Regions from separate parts of the Homo sapiens genome. Here regions 1, 3 and 4 are each linked to region 2. The links are contacts of gene promoters, found by promoter capture Hi-C in blood cells and fetal thymus (Javierre and others, 2016). All regions are on one chromosome and are shown on one strand. Each heading gives the region's core, a stretch centred on a gene start or on the middle of the fragment in contact. The rest is flanking DNA. Distances are from core to core; before and after follow the strand shown. Region 1 holds the start of COX7A2L (cytochrome c oxidase subunit 7A2 like). Region 2 holds the start of MAP4K3 (mitogen-activated protein kinase kinase kinase kinase 3). Region 3 has its middle 52 kb from the start of EML4. Region 4 has its middle 32 kb from the start of EML4.

What was found. Contacts are between HindIII fragments. The CHiCAGO score rates a contact against its expected background, and 5 or more counts as called.
Region 1: a fragment that was not itself captured here is called in contact with the fragment with the promoter of MAP4K3 in region 2 in 1 of 17 cell types (total CD4 T cells); the score reaches 5.7 in total CD4 T cells.
Region 3: a fragment that was not itself captured here is called in contact with the fragment with the promoter of MAP4K3 in region 2 in 1 of 17 cell types (M0 macrophages); the score reaches 5.3 in M0 macrophages.
Region 4: a contact is called between a fragment that was not itself captured here and the fragment with the promoter of MAP4K3 in region 2, in 1 of 17 cell types (M0 macrophages). The highest score is 5.3, in M0 macrophages.

Annotation. Positions count from the first base shown.
Region 1 is chr2:42,359,285-42,364,085 of GRCh38, reverse strand. It overlaps COX7A2L (cytochrome c oxidase subunit 7A2 like), which reads left to right and starts at 2,869. Exons shown (of 3, transcript NM_004718.4): 1 at 2,869-2,996. The coding sequence starts at 2,925. RefSeq lists enhancers at 2,129-2,218, 2,779-2,838, 2,208-2,951, 2,859-3,178, 2,952-3,696 and 1 more and a silencer at 2,409-2,578. The HindIII fragment of the contact is 1,989 bases long and covers 265-2,253 here.
Region 2 is chr2:39,435,244-39,440,031 of GRCh38, reverse strand. It overlaps MAP4K3 (mitogen-activated protein kinase kinase kinase kinase 3), which reads left to right and starts at 2,747. Exons shown (of 34, transcript NM_003618.4): 1 at 2,747-3,140. The coding sequence starts at 3,045. MAP4K3-DT (MAP4K3 divergent transcript) reads right to left here and starts at 2,616. Exons shown (of 6, transcript NR_037875.1): 1 at 2,497-2,616. RefSeq lists silencers at 2,494-2,713, 2,784-3,143 and an enhancer at 3,474-3,553. The HindIII fragment of the contact is 5,405 bases long and covers 1,771-4,788 here.
Region 3 is chr2:42,115,247-42,119,965 of GRCh38, reverse strand. No RefSeq gene overlaps it. Among named protein-coding and RNA genes, the nearest start is that of EML4, 52 kb to the left of the region's middle. The HindIII fragment of the contact is 469 bases long and covers 1,286-1,754 here.
Region 4 is chr2:42,134,757-42,139,467 of GRCh38, reverse strand. No RefSeq gene overlaps it. Among named protein-coding and RNA genes, the nearest start is that of EML4, 32 kb to the left of the region's middle. The HindIII fragment of the contact is 3,340 bases long and covers 364-3,703 here.

The sequences.
Region 1 (4,801 bases), core at 10-2,509, 2.9 Mb before region 2:
CAATTTTTTAAAAGTCAGCTTGGAAAAAATGAGAGAATTTAAAAAATTAACAACTATTTCACAGTTGGTTCCTATCTCTACTCAGTATTACCCAATTTAAATTTTATGTTGGTTTTCCATCCATTCCCCAGGCGCTTTCACAGAGCGGCCTGCCAGAGGCCATTAGCACACACCCCTCACAAATGGAGAAGCAGCGGCATTCAGATTCACCAGGAGCTGGACTGGCATTTGCACTCACTCAGTTCACCTGGTGATTGGCAAGCTTCTCTACTCTGAGTCGTGGTCACTTCCCTTCAGAATAGAATGTGGGGAACAACCTGAAGGGATCGTGATAAAAAAAGATTGTCTTTGATGTTGGATGGGATATGCAAATACGAATGAGAATAGGGTGCCTTAGTACTGTCAGAGTGTGCTGTGTTTTATTTGGGAAATGAGACAAAATCTTCCCATGATCAGCCATTCCATGTGACATCCCAACCCACACTCTGCTACTGACATTTTATCTCCCACTGAACAGCCTGGCTGTTGTAACATTTTCAGGATTCTTAATTTATGTCTTGCAGGATCTAAAATCAGATGGCAGGAACTTTAAGAAAATAACCAGTGTTGACAGGCACCTTATAAAAGAAGCTGGTACACCTTAGTGCTGCTAAAAGTTAGAGAATATTCTTTCGTTTCTTCTTCCAAAATATGTCCAGAAGTCAGTGGGATGGAGACAGTAGCTGTCCCAAATCATTTAATTTCTCTTTTCAATCTAAACTCTATGAAAGGCTTTTTCTTTCACTCAATATTTGCTAGCGCCTGGGACTCAAGAAGGCTAATGTCAATGGATCATTTTCTTTTGAGGTAGTCGAACTTTTTGTCGTAGAAAAATCTTCCTGAATCTATTCAGTATCAAAACATGGGGTGGGCCTGGCACGGTGGCTCATGCCTGTAATCCCAGCATTTTGGGAGTCTTGAGTTTGGCAGATCACTTGAGCCCAGGAGTTTGAGACTAGCCTGGGAAACATGGTGAAACCCCATCTCTACTAAAAATACAAAAAATTAGCCAGGCGTGGTGGCGCGCATCTGTGGTTCCAGCTACCCGGGAGACTGAGGTAGGAGAATCACCTCAGCCTGGGAAGTCAAGGCTGCAATGAGCCGAGATCACACCACTGTACTCCAGCCTGGGACAGAGTGAGACCCTGTTTCAAAAAGAATTTAAAAAAAAAAAAAAAAAAAAGGAAATCACTAGTCCCAAACCACTTATCCTTGGAGAAATATGGACATAAACCCAAATTGCATGTTCTTTCCATTATATCACAGTGTCTCTTTGTAAAAGTGGCAACTTTGGGCTGGCTTACATGAATTCGCTGAAACCTTTACAACATATTGGCGGTGCTGAATACTTGGGGCTCTTGAACGTAAGCCTGCAACCAGGATGCTGGTGTACACCCTCACCCTGGAATGCTCAGCCTTGATCCTCCTCTTTTCAGAATGGCTTCATATCTATTTATTTGTAACATAGTGCTTAACAGTAGGAAGTCTTGAGCCAAATGCCTAGCTCTGCCACTTATCCCTGACCTGAGCAAGTTACTTAGCTTCTCCAGGCGTCATTTTCCTGTATTCTAAAATGGAGATGATAATAGCATTTACCTTATAGGATTGTTGTGAAGATTAAATGAGTTTAGGGCAATGCTATATATAGGTTAGTATCATCCATCAATTTGCAACATGATTTCATAAGTGCATCTAGAATATGCTTGTGTAAACCTATGGTTAGATGATGAAGCTAAGAAAAGCCTGAGTCCATCCCTGGAGAGTAAGAAACTAGTATACTCCTTTTACACAGTACCTTGCACACAGCACAGGCTTAACAGACATATTTAAATTGAACTGAAGCGAATACTACCAGAACTGAAAGTGGTAGTTCCAGATCTTTCAGGCTCAAGGTCCAGATTTTACAAGTGTTTCTGATCACCCTCCCCCTACCTCATTTATCGCAAAGAGCAGAGGCCAGGAAAAGGATGAATAATCAATGACCTTAAAACTCAGGTGAGAATAAAAACCAGTTCTGAGAAACCGTGTGACATTTACATCCTGGTACCTGAGCTTTAGATCACTCTGCATGTGTATTTCCTCTGCACAAAGCCCAGGAGGCTACTTTTATATTATTGGGGCAAATCTCCCAACAGCCCTGGGTACTAAACAGCCTTCAGCAGGTGCTTCCAAATTTTCTTATTTGCTTCAACTCCCAGGTTGCCAGGGGAAGCTTGGCCGACAAGTCTATACTCCTGGGCAGACTGAGCAACAGCAGGTGGTGGCTTCTGGATAAGAGGTGCTCTAGGTCGGAAGGAAATAAATGAGACTACGATCAGTTAAAGTTCGGTAAAGCAAGAGACGCCTTCAACCCGACGACCAGACGGTGGCTCCGCAGCACAGACTCTCTCGGATGGTGGAATTCCCAACCGGCTTCGATGTAGCCCCGCCCCTACCCAGACCACGCCCACCAATCACCGCCCTCTCCCCCCCAGGCCCCGCCTGGAGCCCGCCCCTCCTAAAGCATGCTCCACCTGACTCCGACACTGCCGGGCTTAGTCCGCCGGGCTTAGTCCGTGGAGCGCTTGCGCATTTCTTGAGTTGTCGTGGCACTGCCCAAATCTGAATGGGGGAAAGAGGGAACTTCATATTTCCTACAGACTCCGCCACAGCGACTTTGCGTGCTCTCTTAGAGCTGGTTTTGCCTTTCGTGGTCCTGAGAACCCTGGCTTTTGGTTCCCCAATGCGGCTTAAGTGTGCAGGTTTTAAGTTAGGCGATCTTCGGGCAGCCCTAGTCCCAGCACCGGGTCCTTGCGCTGAGTCTCGGGACCACAGCCGGGGAGGCGGGGTCCTTCTCTGGGGCGGTCGCGTTGGCAGCGGATGCGGGAAGCCGGACTCTGGGCGTCATGTACTACAAGTTTAGTGGCTTCACGCAGAAGTTGGCAGGAGCATGGGCTTCGGAGGCCTATAGCCCGCAGGTACGAGTGGCGCCTGGCCAGCTCGGACATGAGAAGTGGCGGCCCTAGCCTCGGCGACAGGCAGTCGCGGCGTTGGAGCCAGGGGAGGCTTCTGCCCGCGGTCGAGTTCGTCTCTGTTCTCCTTGCACCTCCCGGGGCCTCTCCACACCAGCGTACGGTGGTCACTGAGGCTTCTTTTTGTGTACCTGCTCACCTGGCGGGGGCTGGCCTGGCGTGGAAGTTTGGTCTGGCTCACTGCAGGGGTCAAGGTGACCCCCGGGGTCACTTGTCTAAAAGGGATGGTTTGTGGGGGTCCCCAGTGTGACCCGAGTCAGAGGTCCGGCCTTCTCCCTCAATTCGAAGACATCTGGCTTTCGGCCTCCTTGTCGTTTGTCATCTGCCAGAGCCCCATAGGCAGCCTCACTTGAGCTCGAGATTAGAGAGCGCGGGGCTATAAAGGCGTTTAGAGAAACCATGGTGCAGGGGGTTGGGGGGCTATGATCTGGGTTGGGAAATTTAACAGGTTACTTAACACGTCCAGGGAGGGAAGTTGCATGCAGCGAGGTTACACTTTCCCGATTGTAAAATATTTGACAGATGCTCGTTGTTTGGGTTGTCTGAAAAGTATTCCATTTCACGCAGATTCTACCAATTGGAGTTTGACTCTCCAGCATGTGTTGGGGGTAAACATGAGGGATTTTAGAGCCCCAGACGTGCCTTTTCAAATCATGGCGTTTTCCGCTTTAATTGTGTGACCTTGGCCAAGTTATTTAATTTATTGTGAGCTCAGTTTCATCCAGGGCGGCGTTAGTACACATTAAATGAAGTGTGTCAAGTGACTAGCAGTTTGGGCAGGTGGTTGGTTCTGGATAAGTGTTAACTGTTCACCAGAAGCTGTCTGAGATAGTATATTCCCTCCTAATCCTCTAGAGAAGTGTGGGAAGTGTCGGTGAGATACGCAGTTAGACTGCAGTAGTGAGGGGCCCAGATGAGGTGTAAAGGATACTCCATTACTGTTGCTTCATTTCCTTTTTCTGTGGGACACTGCAGCTTGCCCAAGAGGCAGATGTTTAAGAAAGATTTCAGGTCTGGTACCGTGGCTCACGCCTGTAAATCACAGCACTTTGGAAGGCCGAGGCCGAGGGTCGCTTGAGCCCAGGAGTTTGAGATCAGCCTGGGGCAACATAGTGAGACCCTGTCTCTAAAAACAAAAACAGATGATTCTAATCTCAGATAAGAAGGGCAAGTTTTTTTTTTTTTTTTCGGGGGTTAGTGGGGGAGTTGCGGTGGGAACGGGAAGGAAGAGTTTAGGGTTTATAAATGTTGAGTTTGTGATATGTCATGCTTGGTAGCAGCTAGATTTTTGAATATGGAGTTTAATAAACTTGGGTGTCTTCAGCCCATAGGTGGTAATTTGTAGGGAAGAAAGGTTGGATTATAGTTAGAGTATAGAAACATGAGGGAAGGGTGGAGAAGGAGAATGTGTTTAAAGAATAGTCCGGATGAGAAGGGAAACCAGTGTGGTCTCACTGAAACCGAATTGGTAATGACTTGTAAGGAAGGAATAGTCAGCAGTGTTGCACTTCTTTTACAGATTATGTGAGAAAATGGCCATTTCTATCATCTGCTTCTATGAAATGTATTCTCCAGTGTATGGATATTAAATGTTACAGTTTGATGAGTTTGGACAAACCCATGTACTGTATAACCACACCTCCCTCAATATGCAAGATGTTACATCATCCCAGGAAGTTCCCTTGTACCCTCTGTCAATCCCTGCCACCTTCTTATTCTGACTTTTATCATCATAAATAGATAGTTTTGCC
Region 2 (4,788 bases), core at 1,498-3,997:
AACACATGAAAAATACTTGGCTCCATTCCTGGTATCTTGTAAGCACTTAGCAATGTTAGAAATTACTACTTTTCTCCTAGTTATTATGATCATTTACTAGCACTGTATCACAACGAGGTGGGTTGTTTTGGGAAGCAATGAGTCACCTTTTATTGAAAGTATTCAAGCAGCAGCAAATCCAGCAGAGATGCTGTAGAAGCAGTTCCTGAGTTAAAAAGATTAGATGACTTCTAAGAATGCTTCTAATCATAGAAGAGGGAAGCTCTTTCTCTGATTCTAGGAAAGTGTGATCATTAGTGTTACTTCTAGCAAAACTGAGGATTGTTAGAACAGGGGGAAAAGGCACTGGAATTGGCCACATGCATATATTACAAAAAACAAAATATTTTCTTTGTGAGCAGTTGTTTTACTTATGTTGTAACCCACATGGCAAATCAGGCCCTTACATGGAAATTCATCTCTTCTCAAAAGGACTAGCTTGGCCCTGCCAAAATGGAACAGACAAAACTTTAAAGACTGTTCTAGCCCTACTGAAATGTCTTTTCCTTTTGAAAGCAGTCTATTAGTGATGCAAATGCAAAGTTATTTGGACAGACGATAATCTCAGCAAACAAAACACTGAAGTCATTAGAACTTTCTTGTGCAGCTTTCAGTCCTGAGAATTTGGCTTTCTGGCACTAAAAAGGCAGAGGCCGGGTGCAGTGGCTCATGCCTGTAATCCCACCACTTCAGGAGGCCGAGGCAGGCGGATCATCTGAGGTCGGGAGTTCAAGAGCAGCCTGACCAACAAGGAGAAATCCCATCTCTACTAAAAATACAAAAATTAGCTGGGTGTGGTGTTGCATGCCTGTGATCCCAGCTACTTGGGAGGCTGAGGCAGGAGAATCGCTAAGAACCCGGGAGGCAGAGGTTTCAGTGAGCTGAGATTGCACCCTTGCACTCAAGCCTGGACAACTAGAGCGAAACTCCTTCTCAAAAAAAAAAAAAAAAAAAAGGCAGAGGAAAAGAGCAGACCTGGCTTCCATTTGGGATAATTTGTCAGGTCTGCTTATCTGAATCCTTGGCTAATTATTCTTGCGCTTGGCCTAAACATGCCAAACAATTCTCCAAATGTGGACAAACTGAAGGAAGGCCTGTAATCTGGGTCCTGGGCAAGTACCTTAAACAAGCAAAAGCAAGACCTTTGGCTATGGAATAACATTTATAGTCAGGAGTTTCTCAAGATACCAGAGCCTGAAGGTAGATCCATCGAGAAGATATTCAATGATATGCACTCCTAAGGCAATAATTTAAGTGATACTTTCATATTACTGATGCTTTAAAATTTAATAATTAAAAATTACACAACTGAAAGGCTACTTATATAGGTGAAGAGATAACCATTTTCAAACATCAATTTAGTCAACAGATACTCAAAGTAAACAATTTGAGAATTTAGTACATATGCAATTTTCCTATGAGCAAAAGGATTCAAAAGATTTTTTGAAAAAGTATGAAGCAGTTAACTCTAAGTAGTTTGCTCTACTATTAATTTATTATACTTATCCTTAACAGGTTTGATGAGACCTAGTTTCTCAGGAGCCACGAGGTATTAGGGAATATTAGTGGTTAGAAGGTGTGGTGCCTAAGGGGATTAGGAAAGCATTTCTGAAGCAAAACTCCAACGTGGTATTGCCAAAGTGGCCATCACCTAATTGATTAAAGCTCCTGCAAATGTCTATTGGGAAGTTCAATGAGAACAGAAAAATAACCTTCCATTACCCTCAAGCTTTCTTGGGCAAGTATTAACAATCGGAGCTGGAGTCCACATAGCTCAGATGTAAGACGCGCAATCTGGGTCTTAAGCAGGGTGGGGTTTTTGGGTAGGTAAGGTCACAGCTAAAGAGCTTCCGGATCGTCACGTGTTTATATTTCAGGTGCGGTAATAGATCTAGTCCACTCTCCACCCCTTCTTTACAGGGTTGCTTGACAGCCTGCGCAGTCCCCGCCCGTCTTTGATAATCCAACCCTCTTCGAAGAGGGAGGTCAATCACTGCTTTAGTTCTGCGCTCTGCCTGCCTCCCACGCGGGATGGTGGGCAGCTGTTCCGCGTGTTTTCCTCCCGGAGCTTTCACGCTCTGCCCACTGCACACACCTCCCTCGCGGCCCTCCTGGCCTGCCCTCCTTTGCACCCTGGCAGGCCAACTCCAAGGGTCCGAGTGTCGGTGACAGGGGCAAGCAAGCACAGCTCACTTTTCCTGGGGGTTTTCCTCACGGTGTGTTTAGTGACCCCTCCCCGCAATCCCAGAAAGGCTGCAGCACTCCATGGTATCCTACATGTAGCTGCTTCTAAAATAATAAAGGCTGGGACATTGGCTGTCTTGGATATTACCACTATGCTACCTGCTTGGAACTGGGACCAGATAGACCAAGGTCCAACTTTGTCGTTAGGGGAATCAGAAACGAAAAGAAGCCACTTTCTGCTAGTCCTAACCCCGGTCCCTGGGCCAGGCAAACCTTTTCAAGCGTCCGGCGGCAGCGGCCGGGCGCGGGTCCGCAGAAAAGCCGAGGCGTTTCGGGTCCCAAGCTGTTCCGCCGCCGGCCCCGGCCTGGCAGGCGCGCGGAGCCGGAACGCGCAAGGGGTCGGGTGCGCGCCAGGCCTGGCGCGCTCCCTCCGGGATCGCGGCTGCGCAGTCGGGCGGGAGTCGGGAAAAGGGGAGGAGGTTGGAGGAGCCGGAGTAAGGGGAGGGGGAGGAGCGGCGAAAGCGGAAGCCATGTTGGAGTTTCACCCCGAGCGAGGGGCTGCGAGGGTTCTCCTCTCCTTGTGGGTGTGACCAGGTTCGGCGCGGCGGCGGGCCGCGGGGGGCGGGGACGATTGGCCGCTTGTCGTCGTCCGCAGCGGCGTGAGGGGAGCGGCGGCGGCGGCGGCGGCCGCAGCGTGGAGCCGGGTGATTGTGACCGCCGGGGGAGCCGGGAGCCGGCCGCGGCGCCCTCTCTCCGTGTGGCCCCCTGAGCGGCCCCCCTCCCCTGCCCGGGAGGGAGGCGGGGGGCACCTGGGGCCCGCCATGAACCCCGGCTTCGATTTGTCCCGCCGGAACCCGCAGGAGGACTTCGAGCTGATTCAGCGCATCGGCAGCGGCACCTACGGCGACGTCTACAAGGTAAAGGCAGGGGCCGCGCGCCGCCGAGGCCGTGGGATCCCGACCCGCAGCCAAGCCTGGGCGTCCGAGCCCTTGCCGCCTGTCCTCGGGAGACGCTGGCGCCAGGGAGCAGTCGGGGAGGAGGAGCTGCGGACGCCAAGGGCTCTGCTGCCTTGGTGAACAAAGGGCCGAATGTTTAACCCCGAGACCTCCCCAGCCCTTACCTGAGCCCCCCCGGTGGACATGATTTTTGCCACCTCCCTTCTTGCGCGCATTTCCAGGGAAGGGCAGAACGAGAGCAGGCCACACTGCTCATCCATAGTGCAGAGAAGGTCTGGGCGTTTGTTGCGTTGGCAGGGTCAGCGCGACGAACCGGACAGCAGGGGTCTGGTGTTGTCAAACCTGCCTGCTTCACGCCAACCTGGGGTCGTCCGCTCTAGGTTGGGAGCTGCTGCCCACCAGGCCTCGGTGGTAGTTATTATACTATGCTGAGCGACCTCCATCTTCCATCGACAGCTCTCAGCCTTTAGCGCCTTATTCATCCCCCTGTCAGTTTCTTTTAATTTTCCAGAGTAATGACTTTTTTTTTTTTTTGGAAAGAGCAACTTTGTTTTCTCTAAGTCGAATTGGACTGCGATGCCATTTAAACTTGTTTTTTAAAAAGTGACTTGAATACTTAGGGAAGGTACTGGTTTGACAAGGTTAGAATTCAAAGTCCAGTAGCGGTACAGCATTCCTGTTGTAGAGGGACCACTTCTAAATGTGGGAAGATAAATCACTCTTCCCTGGCCAACTCAACTCTTGGCCTCACAGTTACTGCCAAGAAGAGAGGAGGTTGTTGCCAAATGTGGCAGCAGTCTTGATTTAGTTGTGTATCTTCTTACTGGTAACTGAAGTTGAACTCCTCCAGTTTCACATAACACCTGAGGATGCACAAAGAAACTTAATTTTGCATTGGAAAGTTCAGTCTTAACTTTATTTTGCCCATGTTTAAGCAGGTTTTTACTCTTCAGTGTAATGCCTGTGGTAACTTACATATTTAATACAGTGCAGCCAGTGTTCTGCTTTAGTCTGATTTTCTGGATGATCTACTTTTCACCATCGTGGATCTCATCACTTTTCCTACTATGCAATATAGATATATTGAGCCCACCTACAATGTATGAGATACTTGGCAAGTAAGCACTTTGGGTTGTAGCAGTAAACGATAGACTTGGTTCCAAATCTTCCTAAGTGTTTCTATTTTTTTGGACAAGGACAGTATTAAATAGCCATTTAAATAATTATTGCCGTTTAATTTTGTGATGCAGAAAAGAGTATTAGGATCAGGGTTATGAGAGCATGTAATAGGAGGACCTGATCCTGTTTAGGGTATCAGACGCTCATCGCCTTTCAGCTGAGATCTCAGAGATGATTAGGCGTTGCTTAGGGTACTGGGGAGAGGGGATTACGCCAGATAGGGGAGCATGATATGTGAAGGCTCTGAGGCCCGATGTGAAAGAAGGCCTGTATAGCCTGAGCAGCCAGAGCGGGAGGGTGGCCCTAGATCTTGCAGGCCTCTTAGTTCTCATTAGGAGATCGGACTTGTTTAGGACAATGGGGAACTATTGCAGGCTTTTAAGCAGAGGAGTGACATTAGATTTAGGTTTTTAAAAGAGCTCCCTACTAC
Region 3 (4,719 bases), core at 271-2,770, 2.7 Mb before region 2:
AGAATTTCTGTTCTTGAAAGGCATTGTTAAGGAAATAAAAAGATTAGGAGAAAGGATTTGCCAATCATATATCTTACCAAGGAGTTGTTTGCAGTATATATAGACTCTTAAAACTCAACAGTTAAGAAAAAGCAAAACAAAACCCTGGTTAAAATATAAGCAGAAGGCATGAAAGATTCGTCACCAGAGAAGATACAAGGATGGCAAATATGCCCATGAAAGATTTTTTCAACCTCAGTAGTTATTAGGGAAATTTAAATTAGTACTGTAATGGAATACCATTACACAGCTATTAGAACGGTTAAAATAAAAAAAAAAACTGAGAATATCAACTGCTAGGAAGTATGTGGAGTAACTAGAACTCTTACACATTTCTGGTAGGTAAGCAAAATGGTACAACCACTTTGGAAACATTTTGGTAGTTTCTTTTCAAGTTAAACATACACTTACCATACCCACTTCTAGGTATTTACCTTGAAAAATGGAAACATACATGCTTATATCTGTACATGACTGTTTATAGCAGTTTATACTGCTTATTTTCAATTGCCCCAAATGAGAAACAACCCAAGTATCCTTTAGTTGTGAATGGTTAGACAACATGTGGTACATCCACACAATGGGATACTACTTACCGATAAAAAGAATAAACTATTAACACATGCAAACACGGATGACTCTCAGAACAATTACACCGAGTGAAAGAAACCAGCTCCCCCTGCCCTCTCCCTGCAAAACATGCACACCATATGGTTTCACTTATTTAAGCTTCTAGAAAATACAAATTAATCCATAGTGATAGAAAGCAGATCAGTGGTTGCAGAAAGAAGGGTGGGACAACAAAGGGGCACGAAAATTTGGGGGGTGAATAGCTTGATTGTGGTGATGGTTTCACAAGAATATAACATGTCAAAACTCATCCAATTGTATACTGAAATATGTTTGTCTTATTATTTGTCAGTTATACCTCAAGAAAGCTCTTTTTTTTTCAAAGTCCAGGTGATTCTAATAGGCAGCTGAATTTGAGGACCACTGAAACACACATACGTAACTCTCCTAAGTCCATCAGGTTTTGGCTTACTGCCACAGAGTTTTCTATTGTTCGGATTCCAGTCTTGTTACAAATATGAAACTTACAGGATAACTACAGAATGACCATACATAAAAATCATCAGATAATTTCACTTCAGAAATTCCAGGGCCTTCACTTTAAGCCATAGGGAAGCCCTAGATAAAAATTACTAATTTGAAATGAAATACAGCAAGAGACTCAAGCCTCTAAGCTTCCAGGGCTATAAATCATCTACAGTGCAGAGATGATTTTGGATCTGATAATTTGGTAAATTGCTTCTCTCATCCCTCATAGACTCAGCTTCTACACTTCCCTTATTTTGTCAGAGTTTTTTACTAGAACTCACTCCATTTTTTGCTTCTCTTTACTTTGACCTAACCTGTAGGGCTTCCAAAAATAGGTACTTGAGTGTATTGAAGAAGTTACTAACTTTGTTAAGTTATGCAAGACTTCCCTAAATAAGTATTATTTCCTCTTTCCTCTCAGTGACTCACACAGTACACTCTATAAAGGATTTGAAAGTGGCTGAAGGAAACTAGTTTGTCCCTTGTGCCCAGTTTTGCTCAGAAGCAGGAGAAAGACCTAGGGTGGCATATTTTAACCTTGAATATGTGTGTGACTCACCCAAGAATCCTGTAAAAATGCAGATTTGGTGTCAGCAAGAGTGGAGTAGACTCAAGCTTCTGCTTGAGTTTCTCCCCAGTGATGCTGATGCTGCTAGTTGGGTCACAAGACACATGACCTTTCAAAGTCCTTTCATCCCTGGGACACTGCAAAACAATAATGACCCTAATGGGGAGGAAGTCATTCAAGTCAAAGAGAGGAGCACTGCGTTACTACTGCCTTGATTACACTCTCCAAGTGTTGAACCTCCTGCCTTATGTAAATGTTTATACATCTGGTAAGGGTAAAGATTCACTTGCTGTGAATAGCTCAGGATGTTTAAAAAGTGTTGGTTGGATTTTTCTTACCTTTTTCTGGAAATAATTTGCAATAGATAAGATGGTTTTTCTAGGTTATATTTAGTTAACCCAACTTAAGCCACTTTATAACTGCTGCATCTAGCCACTTCTTGTGTGTATGCTTACTTTATTTTCAAAAATATGTAATGTCAAGGTATGAAATACCAATGTTTCATATACTATTTAGCTGAGGTTTTCAGTTCTTATGACAAATGGGCTGATTTCTCTCCTAGATCCTGAGGGGATTATATTGTATGTCCTGATTTTTCCTCTTTTTGAGGCAAAGATAGCACTAGTCATAGCAGCAGTTGCTTCTAATGATTTAGAGTTATAGTAAAATCTGTTGGAACGAATTGAAGGACAGTATTGTGGCATGGTTATGAATCTTCCTGGGGAAGCTGGCTGCAGCCTTTGGGTGGGTCTTTCTCACCCACTACTTCCCCCCCGCTCTGCTTTGTAAATCAAACTGCATGGTTTTTTTCCAAAGCAAATTCCTGATTTTTGGAAAGGAATCAAATAGTTTAGTTTTGCCTAAAACTGACACATTTAAACACATTTCAAATATATGTGAATTTGTAATTTAAACAAAACAAACTCGATGTGCTTTAAAGAGGCCAATCTATATTTTCAGAAAACTCTTATTATCGGTAATTTTCCATCTCAGTTTACCTTGATATTTAAATCAGTTCATCATGATTTTCAGTGAAAATAACTGAGAAAAAGGCATCCATAAAGGCTAAGAGTAAATCCATATTCATAGCTCTGTATTCCTCATCCAAGATTCCTTATTAAGTGATTACAGGAGCAGTTTTCTGTCTTTCAAGTCCATTTCTGCAGAAGAATTTGAATCACCACTGGAATGAATGTGGTAACGGGAGTAGTTCTGTCAACAATATGTGACACAAGGAAGGGAGTGCAGAAACTGGGCTGTCTGGACTACGGTTTTGGATGAGGTTTGGGATTTTTGTTGTTGCCAGAAAACTCAAAAGTTCAAAGAGAGTAGAAAAGCATATTGATTAGCTCTGGACTGGTCAAAGACTAGATTTATATCTGAGCTTAACTAATGTTTTACACATGGTCTCCTTTGTATTTTAAAATTTTTGTACCCCTGGTTAGTTAAAGGCAAGGACCAGCTGAAAGCAATTCCTCTTCTTGTCTTCTCTCCTCCAAATCAAGGCCATTTAGTTGGTAGGTAGATATTAAATCTCTAGGAACAAAGAGGAATGTTACTGGCCCAAATGTCCCATGATCCCTGAAGTTCATGTTGGTGCCAGAAGAGCTTCATGGCTTATTTTTCTCCCTAAATCTTCTACTCCAGAGGCCACATTTGCAGGGATATCTGGAGAACTGAGATGAACACTTGCCTCTCTGCCAATTCATCTTTCTTTTGGCCAGTTTATCAAGGATATTTGGATCTGCTGATGCACATTTCAGCCCCATCAGTTAATTTTCATTACAAAATTATGTTGCTAACATTATCAAGAGCATTGTGCCAAGCACTTTACACATATTACCTTATTTATTCCTCGTGATACCCATATTACAGGTGAGGAAACTGAGGCTCAGGCAGGTCACGTAACTTGCCCAAGTCCTCAAGGCCAGGATCCAAAATACAGACAGTTTAACCTCGAGCATGTGCTCTTAACCACTATAGTATTCTGCTTCCCTTATCCATAGATTCTTTCAGGACTTGGGAACTAAAGGAGTTTGGGAAAGAGACAAGGACATGGACTTTCTAATAAACTTCCTTTAAAGCTTCATTAGTTATACATCCATTCAACAATAATCCACTCCTCTTCAACTCTTCTAGAAGCTTACTTTCAATTTAAAGTCACAGTATCACTTTACAGCAGACCCCTCTGCCTGGTAAGCGGCTCCCCCACTAATTCACACGGTAAGTCCCTATAGACATGTTTATCTTCTAAAATCTATCCCACTGGTCATAACTCAATGAGTCCCAAGCTGGGTGAACAAGATTCTTTCTATTAGAAATCTCAAATTGGGAAAGAGAGGTGCAGAGGTCGTTTCTGATATGGCTAGAAATGTAAGATGTAAACTCAGTGTAACACGCAAACTCAGTAACTATAGAGAAGGTGGAGTGCGATGGCTCACACCTGTAATCCCAGCACTTTTTGAGGCTGAAACGGGAGGACTGCTTGAGCCTAGGAGTTTGAGACCAGCCTGGACAACATAGTGAGACCCCATCTCTGAAAAAAAAATTTTTTTTAATTAGCTGAGCACTGTGGCTTGCACCTGTGGTCCCAGCTATTCAGGAGGCTGAGGTGGGAGGGTCACTTGAGCCCAGGAGATTGAGGCTGCAGTAATTAAGCCACTGCACTCCAGCCTGGGTGACAGAGGGAGACCGTGTCTCCAAAAGCAAACAAACAAACATAAAAAAACCAAAAAACAAAAAAAAAAAAAAAAAGAGAGAGGAGGGAGGTAGGGGGTAGAGAGGAAAGAAAAGAGGAGAAAGATAGTGTATGTAGTAGACACACAGAGAAGCTGAGATCAGATGGGGAACTTTTTGTTGATTTCCAGTACCTAGATGCAGTTCTTTGTGACACATCCCTATTTCCCTAAAAATGGTCTTTTTGCTTTAGCTGGTCCAAGTTGATTTCTGTGCCTTACAATCAAACTTTTGATTGATGCTCATTGGAACTCCTACAAGACCCAGGAACTCTGACA
Region 4 (4,711 bases), core at 784-3,283, 2.7 Mb before region 2:
CTGAAACCCTGCCCTTGGTTATCTAGACTCACATTGACTCCCCCAGACTGCCAATGCATTTGAAACTGATTCAAAATGCTTTTTGGAGATCCATCTCAATTCAGCTTGCAGGCATTCTTGGGGCCCCCTTCCAAGAAGAAATGGACCGGCATCCTGTCTGGGCTAGACCCAAGTTAGGCTCTGTCTGTCTGGGAGAATGTCATTTCTGCTTTTGAATGTCTGATGGCTAAAGCTCCAGGCTCTTGCTCCTCAATCAACACCACCACATATTCGCAGTGTTGGCTCGACTTGCAGACCTTAATCTTTAGCTCCCACATAGATGAGACAATTCTTTTTTTAAAGACATTAAGGATATATTAAGCTTCTCTTCCCTGAATTCTGTTTCTCAAACTTCCATCATCATCCCCTACTACTACTTACTGAGTACCTAGTATGACCTAGATACTGGGGCAAACAAGGGAGACTTGGTCCATGCCTTCATAGGCCTTTAAGTACCATAGGTAATAATTGTATCATTGTATAACCAAGTTAGAGATAAAAAAATAAAATGACAGACAGCTCACAGCCTTCTGTCTCATTAATATTGCATTCACCCCACCTAACAAAGTAGGAGATCTAATAGTCAAGTTCTTCAGTGTTCTCTTGGCTCACTTCCCAGCTGTGGTCAAATTCTCTGCATGCTCTTTCCTCCTTTTCTGGATTACTTGAGGAATTGCCAGGAGAGCAGAGGCATGAAGAATGCAGGCAGCGAAAGAGAAAAAGCATCTGCAAATGACTGACCGAAGCCAGTTGTAGTTAGACAGAATCAGGGTTCTCAGTTGCAAGCAACAGAAACCAACTCTGATTGATTTAAACAGAAAAATAATTTGTTGAAATGCTATTGGGCAACTCATAGAAAAACTGGGAAGGCTAGAGAAATAGGCTCAAAAAACACAGGAACCAGAAATTCAGGATCACAGCCAAGGCTATAGGTACAATCACAGCACAGGGCCTAAGATGATGATACCACTGTTGCCACTGCCCAGTGCTGGACCACAACTTACATTGTCACCCTCTTCAGCTGCAGACACTGGATACCACCATAAGCACCACTGCACTGGGAGCTTGTATATTTTTGCTGCCCTGCAGTTTCCTGTGAAAAGGGATCCGTATTTGTTGGTGCCAGTAATTTCTGATTCCTTCTGGAGCAGCTGCACCTGTTGGCCAAGTCTCGGTTATGTGTCCATATCCTACCTTTAAAAGAGACTAGAAAGGAGAGTATCTGGGCCAGGCGTGGTGGCTCATGCCTGTAATCCCAGCACTTTGGGAAGCCAAGGTGGGTGATCACCTACGGTCAGGAGTTCGAGACCAGCCTGACCAATATGGTGAAACCTTATCTCTACTAAAAATATAAAAATCAGTCGGATGTGATGGTGGGCACCTGTAGCCCTAGCTACTCAGGAGGCTGAGACAGGAGAATTGCTTGAACCCGGGAGGTGGAGGTTGCAGTGAGCTGAGATCACCCCACTGCACTCCAGCCTAGGTGACCAAGCAAGACTCCGTCTCAAATAAAATAAGATGAAATAAAATAAGAGAGTATCTGGTCCTTAGGGCTCTTTCTTAGGACACCAAGATTCATAAAAAGGTAAATGTCCTAAACATGTGAAGGGAGTTCAGATGCTGAGTAACCACAAATGACTCTACCTAAACCTCCTTCCTCTAATCCCATGTGATAGGGAGGGCCTGGGTCAACATTGCTGAAGAGCCAGAAAATCAGAAATGAGTCCAGTATCCACATTCCAGCACTAAGCCCAGTATCTACCAACCCGAGAAGCAACTGCCCTAGGCAAGCAAGGGCAGCACAATCAGGTTGACCTCTCCTCGGGGACGAAGGAAAGATGGCCCCCTCTCTCCCACAGGAGACTCCCTCAGCCCCAGTGAGGAGAGGAGAGGGAGCAGTGGGCAGGCTGTTTGATCCTCCCCACCTGCACCTGGATCAGCCCTGCCTGCTCCAGTCATCCTTTTCACACCAGCAGGAAGGAAATTGAAGCTACTGCCATTGAAAACACAAAAGACAAAAGCCCGTGCCAGAGGTTTGTACCTTTGGCCTTGACCTCTCATCCCAGGCCTGCTGCTTAGATTTTTGATAATCTACAGACTCACCATGATTTTGCCACAGCTAGCCACCAAGCCCTAGGGGTGTTACCTGAGATGGGGATGGGTGGGCACGGAGAGGGACATGTGTGTTAATCAACAACCCACAGCCCCTGGGCCTCAAATAAAACAAACAAAAAAATGGAAACTCTGTTTTGAGTCATCTAATTATTTGTTCCCTGCCTTTGGAGGAGAGGCAAACTAACCCAAAGTGTAGCCCTCATTAGAAGGTGATCCATACCATCAGGGAGTCTCTCAAGTCATTCTCACGATCCTATCCTGGGGTGGGCCCTTGGTGACATCCTGTTTTCCTCTATTCCTTTACTGGGGATGTGGCTGGGAAGCGCCTTCTTGGCAGGGTGCATAATTCCCACTGTCTGATTCTAGCTTGGGGAGAGGAGGGTGGGGTGACAAGTAGAGTGTGTCTGTTCCCATTCTTTCCTCTACCCCTAACCACAAACTTAGCTTCCACCCCCACTCTTTCCTTAAGGCTGTCAGAAGCTCCTGAGGGAGCCACATATGAAGGCTTCATAACAGCTCTGGGCTGTTGAAAACTCCTGAGTACACGTTTATTAATAAAAATCACTAGAAACCAATATATTTAGAATACATTAGCTTAATTCCTTATAAAAATTTTTGCACTGAGCCAAGGTTCAATACTGGAGTTCTGACTTCTTTTTTTTTTTTTTTTTTGGGACAGGGTCTCTCGCTCTGTCACCTAGGCTGGAGTGCAGTGGTGCCATCTCGGCTCACTGTAACCTCCACCTCTGCCTCCTGGGCACAAGTGATCCTCCTACCTAAGCCTCCCGAGTAGCTGGGATGACAATGATGCCTGACTAATTTTTTTTTTGTATTTTTAGTAGAGACAGGGTTTCACCATGTTGCCCAGGCCGGTCTCGGACTCCTGAGCTCAAGCCATTTGCCTGCCTCGGCCTCCCAAAGTGCTGGGATTACAGGTGTGAGCCACTGCTTCCCACCAGTTCTGACTTTCTTAGAGGGTAATCACAGAAAAACAAACAAACAAACAAACAAACAAACCCTTTTTGTATATTCTGAAAACTCAATTGGAGTCATTGCTCATTCTGTTTCTCAGAATCCTGTCTTTTAGGATCTATGTAATAAATTTCACTTACAATTTAGCATGAGGGAAAAGATTACATTTCCTCATGAGCTGATATTGCTTCCTTTTTTCAGACAGTAAGAGTGATGTAACCAATTGTGTTTCACTTTTTGATTGAGCTGTCAGGAAGCCCAGACTTCAATTTAGTATCCATTTACAGAATTATCTTATCTCTGGTTCCTGATCTTCTCCTTCCTCTGTATGGCTTCCCATCTCCCCTTTCATCTGTATGTCAACTGTCTCCCCTATTTGCACAGGTCAGCTACACCCAAGGCCACCCAGAAGTTGATCTCACTTTCCTGAGTACCCAGGCTAGTTGGAGAGAAAAACTCACAGGCTAGCACACAGGGAACTATTAGCAGAATATGTTCAAATGTTAAATTAGAAGAAAAAGAGTTTTAGGGATTGAGCAGACAGATTAGTGAAAATTGGAGCAGTCAAAAGAAAGCTTCCTGAAGGAGGTGGTACTCAGAGCAGACAGATTAGTGAAAATTGGAGCAGTCAAAAGAAAGCTTCCTGAAGGAGGTGGTACTCAGAGTAAGCTTCGAAGGCTTGCAGTTCGTTTCAGGGGTTCATTTCAGTGGACCAGCTATATGCCTTGGTTTGGACCATAGGAGGCTTTGGGGCAAATACCTGGGACGTTGGTTGTCTCTTCCCTTGAGGGCAGGTTCTGAAGCTCTCTGACTAGCTGGTGCACTGCTTTCTGGGAATCAACTATGTGAGGCTGATAGAGTCAGTCCTCAGTAAAATGGTACAGCAGGTGGCACTGGTCTAGGTGCTATTGGTGTTTACGATGGGACAATTCTTCATTAGAACAAAACTTCATTGGAACTATACCTAATGTACTATATTTAGCATCTTGATCCACATCTGCCAAATGCCACTAGCAACCCCTAATTTTTGGGACAACCCCAAATGCCTGTATGCTTTCCCTGCAGCCCCTGGGGGACAGTTCCACACAGATGAGACCCACCACTCCCTCAAATGCCTGAGGTTCTCCTCTCTAGCCTGCCACCCAAACTAGGATTTCCAGATTTAGCAAAAACACAAAACAAAACAAAACAAAACACAGATCATCCCGTCAAATTTGAATTTCAGACAATGAATTTTTTATTATAAATATATCCCAAATATTGCATTAGTTTTCTATAGCTGAAATTAAAATATAACTAGGGGTCTTTATTTTATTCATTGCCCTACCCACAACCCTTCATCACCACAGACAAACCTGCTTTCCAGAAATTTCCATTCAGTTGATCATGCTCTGTGTACTGAATCATTCCCTACTTGTCTGTTAAGACTCATCTATTTTGTATTTCAGTCACGCATATTCACTGTCTGTGCTAAGTCTCAGTTGGATGGTAAATACTTTTTTTTTTTTTTTTTTTGAGACGGAGTGTCCCTCTGTGGCCCAGGCTGGAGTGCAGTGGTGTGATCTCGGCTCACTGCAACCTCCGC